Linked DNA regions of Homo sapiens: region 1 is linked to region 2. Evidence: promoter capture Hi-C in 16 types of primary human blood cells and fetal thymus (Javierre and others, 2016). All regions are on one chromosome and are shown on one strand. Each heading gives the region's core, a stretch centred on a gene start or on the middle of the fragment in contact. The rest is flanking DNA. Distances are from core to core; before and after follow the strand shown. Region 1 holds the start of GADD45A (growth arrest and DNA damage inducible alpha). Region 2 holds the start of JAK1 (Janus kinase 1).

Region 1 (4,260 bases), core at 1,092-3,591, 2.7 Mb before region 2:
TCCCGCGGCCCCGTCACCCCCCATGACCCCTGCACGCCCAAGGACCGGGCGTCCCGTGAGAAGTCCCGAGAGTGCCCCTGCCACAGGCTGCCAGCCACGGGAGCCGCACGGGCAGCGACGGCCACTGCTGCCCTTTGCAAAGGCCCCGGCGGGGCTCGTTCGGGTTGGGGGGCACGCTCTTTCAGTCCGTGGGAGCTCCACGGAGAGTCCCGAGGGAGCAAGGGCGGGAGTTGCCCTGTGCAAACTTTTTAGCTTCCTCCCCTGCAAGCCTTCCACAGCCCGGCTGCACCGGGGAGCGCGGGGTAGGTAAGAGAAGTTCGGGCCGGAAGAGTCCGCAGGCCGACTCACCTTTCGGTCTTCTGCTCTCCAGCCGAGAATTCCTCCAAAGTCATATTGCAAACTGCAGGTCGCCCAGGGAGAGAGCGCGGCGTGCGGGCTGCTCCTGCCACGGCTAGCGCGCGGGCGCCTGCTTTCTGCACTCACTCACAGGCGCCGCTCCGGCAGCTCAGGCCCTGGCGCTCTCCGGCCGCCCCTCGCCCGCCCGGGCTCCTCCTCCTGTGCCAGCCGCCGCAGCTCCGGCCACCCCTCCCGCCTTGCTTGCTCGCTCGCTCCCCGGACCTCGCCTCGCCACGGGCCGCACGACACTAATTGGGCCGCTGCCTCCCAGCCACTGCCTACCAGCCACTGGAGGACAAAGGGCCCCGCTCTCCGGGGTTATCCTGCCAACCCTCAGCCAACCACCTTCCGCCTCATTTGCATGCAGCTTGGCCATTGGGCTATGCAAATCAGCCTGCTCCAGCAATTTGACCCCAGCTCCTGGAGTCAGGTTGAGAGGAGCGGAAAAGGGAGGAGCCACGCGGGAGGCGAGCCGAGGGGGCGGGGGCGGGGGCGGTGCCGAGAGGGGAAGGCGGGTCCCGCGCGCACTCTTATCCGGTTGGCGGGGACCATTGGGAGTGGGGGGCTTTAGCAGAGGCTAGAGGTGGCCTCAGCTTGGGCTGAAGCAGGCTGCCAAGTGTTTTTCTATAATAGTTGCGGCACTTTTTTCTTATTATCTTTTCATGTCTTTTGTTTTAAGGGGTGGCTATTAAAATCTATTTCCAGGGTTAATGCACTGAAGTCTAGTAATTATTAGTAAGCAGGTTACATTAAAAAAGTGTCTCCAGACCTCCGGGGCAAAGTTTACCTCAGAAGTGTTGTTTATCTAAGTCTAGGCGAAGCTGCTTATTAGCAGTAGTATTATTTCGGTGCCCTGATGGCTGGTTTGATTTATTTTTGGAAAGCTGCAAGGGTTGGAAGCTGAAAAAAGAAAAACCAACCCGTTTGTATTCAGGGATGGCAGGGAACCAAGTTAGAATCTTTTCCACAGAAAGCAGAACGGTTTCCCACCTGCCCGGTGTAACTGGGAAATCGTGAGCTGGTCTGCGTGGGGAGCTGGTGACCACATGTGGGAATCCCTGGCAACCCAGATTCTCCTTTCTCAAAGAGCCTTGCCCAAACAAGGATCCTTCTGGACGCCCACCAGCTGAGAGACAACCATCTGACACCCACACAGCCCACAAGTCTAAATTCAAAATGCTCTCGATATGCCCTAAGCTTCCTTTCCTAACGTATGTATGTCGTTACCTTCCACAGAGAGCCTCCTATGATCTCACTGTGAATTATTGATGTTAGATGCTGAATCATGAAGCTGTAACTATAGGAAGTTTTTAGTCATATGCTAAAATTTCACCTTTGAGATAATGGCAACTTGTAGGTGGAAAGCAGACCTTTAAAACTGCAAATGGTAGTTACACATTTTTGAAAAACAAACTTTAATATATAGACTCTCACTGAGTAGTTCAAAAGTCCCTTCCTTTGTTTTATGGTTTATGCAATAAAAGCAAAAACATTTCTTAAACCTACTGAAGTCATCAAAAGTGGTGAAAATGGCTCCCACATGCTTGCATTCAAAACAGTGCTTGCATTATTAAGGTTGCTGTACAGCCAAAGGTCACAGAAGTAATTTCTGCAAAGGTACCTGGAAGTTTTGCACCCTTATGTTTTTATCACTCTAGACAAAATATTCTCCAGCTCTCTTGATCTTAATTTGGTGGAAAAGAAAAGTGATAGGTTTTCTGGTTCATTTATTTGAGTTGTCATTTTGCACTCATTTTTTCACTGTGTTGTCAGCCATGGACAACATTTGAGTAAAGAAATGGTCATGGTCAGTGCATAATTCACCTAAGCATGACTATGTATCTCATATCTATGCCTTAAATCTTAACATTTGATGTCTTTCTTAAAGAATTCCTCAACATTGAAATTTAGGTAGGTTACCGAAGCATTTTCAGTTTTGCAGACAAAACCTGAATTACACAATCTAGCCTGAGTCATCATTTGGCGATTGTTAATATGTTCCGTGGAACTCCAAGGTTCTATCCACTAGGCATTTCTTAGAGGTTCTTGGGAAGAAAATGTGATCACAGCAAGCTGACAAAGAATTAGGGAATCATGTGAGTTTCTTGACAGCAAGGACTTCATCAGTTTGGTGTCCTCAGCTCCTAGTACAATACCTGCATTTAGTAGAAGCACAGTCAAGGTTTATTGAGTTGAATAGAATTTGAGAGTTAAATAAGATATCAGAATCCTGCAGTCCTGTGCATTGCATGAATTCTAACATATTGCACATTTAACGTTAGTTCAAAAACACTTTTGCCTGTCTTCTTCTATACCAAGAACTGTACAATTCCTGGTCCTTTGCCTTTAAAGAGCTTAGGCTCTTATTGGTATGTCCATGCTTGAACTGGATTTTGGGACAAAATAGTATGCACTGTCATCAGCTAGCTATGCTGAAAGTCCCATGACTTCAGTCATCTGAATGGAGGCTGTAGGACAGTAGAACCGGTGTATTGTTTACACCAATTCAAATGAACCACAGTCCTAAAGTGCCCCACCCAAGTCGACTATATCCAGTAAAAATGTGATATCAAATGGTTACTTCTTATTATAGGCTTAGTCCTCCACTCAAAAATTATACTGCATGCTATATTTGACTTCATCAGAAAGTTATTTGCCCAAGTATTTTGGGGATTTTCTCTGAGATAAGCTTGGGCTTCCAGTATGCAAAAATATTCATTTGTCATACTTTCTGACTCAGATACGTTACATCATTTTGCCTGATTGCTGAGTATACCTAGAATGTTTTCTCAGTGATTATCTTCAAAGTTGGGCCTCATGACTGGAAGTAAAAACTGCATTTAGCTACACAGTTAGATTGTAGTTACACATTAGAATGGACATAGTTGATTTATCATTAACTGTTTATTAGTCCTGGAGGACATTGATAGTCAATGGTAAATCAGAGAAATTTTCCTATATCAATATTATATATATATATATATTTCTTTATAATCAGTGTGATAACTCCAATATGTGATGTCATTTTAAAAACCACTACAGGTAACTCTGACAACTGCCAAGTACACAGGAGTAGAATGCTCTTGTAGTAATGTTTGTAAAGATACCAAATGATTATATTTAGAAATCATATGGAAATATATACTCAAGAATTGTTCAATTATTTTAGCACTGCTACTTGCTTTGCATATTAAAGATCTTTTTGATATTTTAGTCATGCTTATCCTACATACATTCCTACTACTGGTTCCATAATGCAGAATTATTCTTTCTTTCTTTCAAAAAACAATCAATGCTTTAACATCTGAAAGAAATATAATGCTTGTTATTTCAGTATTAGATCATTGTCCACATCAAAGGAGAAGATCAGTTCAACTATGATGGATGTATTTTCCACCTACCTAGAATTGTATTGTATTATTTTTTCTTGTTAAAAATCATAAGGTTCCTGGTCAGGTGCAGTAGCTCACGCCTGTAATCCCAGCACTTTGAGAGGCTGAGGAGGTCGGATCACCTGAGGTCAGGAGTTCAAAACCAGCCTGGCCAACATGGTAAAACCCCACCTCTACTAAAAATACAAAAATTAGTTGGGGCCAGGTGTGGTGGCTCACACCTGTAATCCCAGCACTTTGGGAGGCCAAGGCGGGTGGATCACCTGAGGTCAGGAGCTTGAGACCAGCCTGGCTAAGGAGTTTGAGACCAGCCTGGCTAACATGGTGAAACCCCAGCTCTACTAAAAATACAAAAATTAGCCAGGCGCGGTGGCAGGCACCTGTAATCTTAGCTACTCGGGAGGCTGAGGCAGGAGAATCACTTGAATCTGGAGGTGGAGGTTGCAGTGAGCCGAGATGGTGCCATTGCACT
Region 2 (4,290 bases), core at 98-2,597:
GACTTGCACACAAACACCCACAATGCAGGCAACCCGGGTTGCCTCCCTGTCTGCTCTGATCTCCGGTCTTCTTTGGTCCTCTTTTCTGTACTTCTGGAAGGCACTTTGGAGATCCTTTTGTCTGCTGCTCCACTGAGAATTGAGTCAACTAAGAATTGTTTAGGGCAACACAGGTGGTTACTGGTGGAGGCCAAACCTCAAATTCAGTAGTCTAATTCGGATGCTTGACTTTATTCCACACCCAGAATATCTTGCTCAGTTTCAGTTGCAGTAACTCAAGTGATCAGGAACTGTCCAGCAGGGTTAGTGAAGTCAGCACAGGTGGGGCAGCCTCTGTCCACAGCCCTGAAGCTGCAGAATTCTGACCGTGCACGGCCTCGGAGGATTTTCATCCAGGGATTGTCAGGGGGAAGTCGCTGGAGTGTTTTAAGCATGGGAGTGTGTGGAACAGATTTGAATTTTTAAAAGTTCATTGTAGAGAATTAATTGGGGGCTGGAGTGAATGGAGTGACGATTTAAGAGATGTTCGTGGTCCCTTCAGGTGAGAGATGGTGGCAGCTCGGACCGTGTTGCCGGAACATAGACAAGTGAACTGATTGGAGAGATACCTAAGGAAATAAAATTGTTAGGATTTGTCCGTGGACTGCCTACGAAGTATGAATCTTGGCTACAGTGTGACCTTGATTAAGACACTAAAGACTTAATTTGTTCCTCATGGATAAGATGATGCTACTACTTTGAGAGGTTATTAGTAAAAAATGAAAAGCGCTGTACATGCATTAGGTATCAGTGAATGTAGTTCTAATTCCTATTATGCATATGCTTTTTTTTTTTTCGTAAAGAGCTTTTAAAATACGGAATGGGTTGGATCTGCAGTAGCTTGTCCAAGCTGGGGGCTGTATTGTTAAATTCTTTTTAGTCTAGTGCTCCACTAGCTCCTCTCCTACTGAGCTGGGGTAAGAAGCGGAGCGTATACGGAGGAGGCGGGATGCATTTCTGCATCGAGCGCACAAAGGTGTGGCGGAGGGGGCTCCAGAGCTGGGAGGGGTCAATCTACGGGCGAATCCTGGCAATTTTACTCCCCGCGATAGATGACCTCGCGTCCTAGATGAGTTTCTAGATTCTAGAATCTAGAGGACGCGGTGAACAGAGACGAGTGGGGGCAGCTTCGCGAGCGAAGCCGGATGGGGGCGGGGCGGGTAGGCCGGAGGCGCAGAGTCTCCGCCGGGACCGCGACCCCGCCCCGCTTTCCGGGGCTGCCGCTGGTGACGTCGCGAGGGGGTGGGCCCGGCGGCCACGGGGGTGGGGCCGGCCGCGGGGCGGGGCGGGGCGGGACGGGAGGCGGTGCGTCGCTGAGCGCAGGCCGCGGCGGCCGCGGAGTATCCTGGAGCTGCAGACAGTGCGGGCCTGCGCCCAGTCCCGGCTGTCCTCGCCGCGACCCCTCCTCAGCCCTGGGCGCGCGCACGCTGGGGCCCCGCGGGGCTGGCCGCCTAGCGAGCCTGCCGGTCGACCCCAGCCAGCGCAGCGACGGGGCGCTGCCTGGCCCAGGCGCACACGGAAGTGGTGAGTGTCACCGGGGGAGGTGGAGGAGCCGGGGCGGCCGCGGTCGGCAGGCGAGGGGCGCGCAGCCCGGACTGGCCGGAGGCGCGGCCACCGCTCTTGGTCGGTCCTTAGGCTGCGCGGCCCGGGCTGCTCCTGAGCGCAGCTCAGGACCCCGCGGCTCGGGCGGGGAAGGCGGGGATTTCCAGCCCCGCGGAGCCGGCGGGCGGCGAGGAGGTCGCCGGGCGGGGGCCCCCGGCCGGGAGAAGAGCGGTTAAGCCAGGCCGCCCCCTCCCCCAGCGCGCACGGCAAGTTTTCATAAACAAGCCCGGAGCGCGCTGTCTGACATCCTGTTTATACCACCCCGAGATACAGGCGCGGGCTGGAGGGCTGACGTCCCTAGCTCCTTGTACCGCGAACTTGACCGCCAGCTCCCGGCCGGGGTGGCAGCGCAGAAAGGTTTTCTTCTTCGGCCCCAGGAAGGAGGCTGAGGGTCTTAGCTTTTTTCCTTCCTTGCGGTCTCAGCGAGGGAAAGTTTCTGGGATTTGGAGCTGGGTGTTGGGCGTCCGCGAACTCGGGAAACGCCCCCTCCCCTCTTAGGTTCTGTTAGGAACCAGGCCTCAGGTAGCCAGCGAGAAGTGGGAAAGGAGACCCTGGGCGAGAGGACCAGGGAAGGGGAACAGTGGGAGAGAACTACCCGGGGAATTGCGAATCCCACTGGAAAGGGACTGATTAACCGAAACTGGGGCTGGTCTCTGGCTCCCTCACTCCAACTCCATCCGCGCATCGTCGGCGACCGGGAGCATCGGAGGACTAATAGACACTCCTCCAAAGTCACTCCCCAGGGTCCCTGGGATGTGGGCTCCTTGGATGTGTGTTTACCACGGAACTTCTAGATAAAAGATGCGATGTTTGCCAGGTGTTTGTGCACACGTTTTTTGGAGGGTTTGCACTCCATGATTTCCTGTGTGTTCCTGGGGAAGGGGACCCCGTCCTTCCTGCCACTCTTCTTACTACGTGGCTGTGAGCTGCCTTCTGCCCCTGGTTGAGTACATCGCTATACATGTCATTGACACTTTTCCCCCCAAGTCATAGGGTTTTTCTCTCACTGGCAGGAATTTACAGTGGTATAAAATTGTCATTACTTCTTTCAGGGAGTAAAACATGGGTAGTTAAGTGATGAGAATAATGCAGAGAGAGATGTAAATCAGGGCGTGTTTGGTTTTGGCTATTTTTTTATTTTTTGAAGAAAAGATTTGAGTTAAATATGGGTATAGGCACAGTAGATTTTGTTTAAGATGAGCAATTCGTATTGATTGAATCTTTGTTCTTCCCTTTCCAAAACCCCATTATGTGTTGTTTCTTGATTTTGCTTTTGGTGACTCTGATGTTTTCCAAGACCAGGGGATTATTTTCATTGAAGGATCAATGTGTTCTTTTGTACTTTGTGGTGAAGATTAATGGAGACCACCAGGGTTCCAGACATTTCTGGTACAATATGCTTTGTAATGTGGAGAAAATGTCTCCCCTGTATAGATCCAGATCACATTTAAAGATGTGAAGACATCATACTGGAATGACTTTGGACATTATAAATAGGAATAATCATAACCTCTTCTTAATTCTGTATATCATATTAACTAAGTGCTTTGACTGAGTCTTAGTTTCTGCAAATAGATACAAAACTATGTTTTTTTACTGCTAGGATTGCAGTGTGATACTCCACACTGAATACAGCCAGTTTAAATGGTTTCCTCCATTTCATACTATACTAATTATTTACTACCATTGGGAAATGATTGTAGAGAATGCATAAATTAGATATAGGTAAAATAATTCAAACATTTCCTAAAATATAACTACATTTCAGTTGTTGTAATTTAGGATCTTAACATGAGCTTGGCTAAAGCCATATACTTCCGACTGAAACAAGCATTGAGAACGTGTAGGTTGATACTCATTTGTGTAGAGAGAACAAGAGAACACTAAGGTATAACTGCATAGCAAAGACCATGATCTGTGTTTTCTAATTCTCAGATTCCTCTGGTGTTTTTTTCCCCTCAAAGACACATCCCATTTTGTATGTCCTTATGTCCTGATAAGATAATAGCATGCTGTTAGAAGATTTATTGTCTGAGATGTGAATATTCATACAAATAAATTTTTCTTGTTCATTTTCACATTTAAAACCATTATTTTAAGTGGATGGGGAATTGGCTTATTAATGGAATCTCGCTGAAGAAGGAACATTGGATGTTCTGTGATTATTGTGGCTCAGTGGTATATGGAACCTTGTCATTGAACAGGAGTGTTGGAAGGAACTTTCAGATTTTTTTAGACTAGTAAGGGTATGATTTTGCACCCAATGAGATATTTGCAGTTTCTGGAGACATTTTTGGTTGTTACAACTTGGGGGAAGGGAGCGGTGCTACTGGTAGGCATCTAGTGGTTAGAGGCTAGGGATGCTACTAAACATCCTATAACGCACAAGACAGCCCCCCATCCCAAACAAAGAATTATCCATCTCAGTAGTGCCCAGGTTAAGAAGTCCTGCTTTGGAATACTGAGTAAGGAGCAAGAAGATCTGGGCTCTTGTGGCAAATTTTTTCACTTCAGGGCACCTCTTTTCTTCATTTGCAAAATGGAGATAAAAATATTCTCCCTGGTCATCTCGCAGAGTTTTGGGGGGAAGTCAGGTAAATAATGCATGGAAACTGTGACGTGCTATGCAAATCATAACTAATATGAAGA

The links. The method cuts DNA at HindIII sites, captures the fragments that hold promoters and counts their contacts. A CHiCAGO score of 5 or more calls a contact.
Region 1: a contact is called between a fragment that was not itself captured here and the fragment with the promoter of JAK1 in region 2, in 2 of 17 cell types (naive CD8 T cells and total CD8 T cells). The highest score is 7.2, in naive CD8 T cells.

Annotation. Positions count from the first base shown.
Region 1 is chr1:67,681,627-67,685,886 of GRCh38, reverse strand. GADD45A (growth arrest and DNA damage inducible alpha) reads right to left here and starts at 686. Exons shown (of 4, transcript NM_001924.4): 1 at 349-686. The coding sequence starts at 392. RefSeq lists silencers at 423-582, 773-832, 843-1,022 and a cis regulatory region at 2,785-3,277. The HindIII fragment of the contact is 1,492 bases long and covers 1,596-3,087 here.
Region 2 is chr1:64,963,606-64,967,895 of GRCh38, reverse strand. JAK1 (Janus kinase 1) reads left to right here and starts at 1,347. Exons shown (of 25, transcript NM_002227.4): 1 at 1,347-1,563. RefSeq lists a silencer at 1,123-2,002. The HindIII fragment of the contact is 15,152 bases long and covers 1-4,290 here.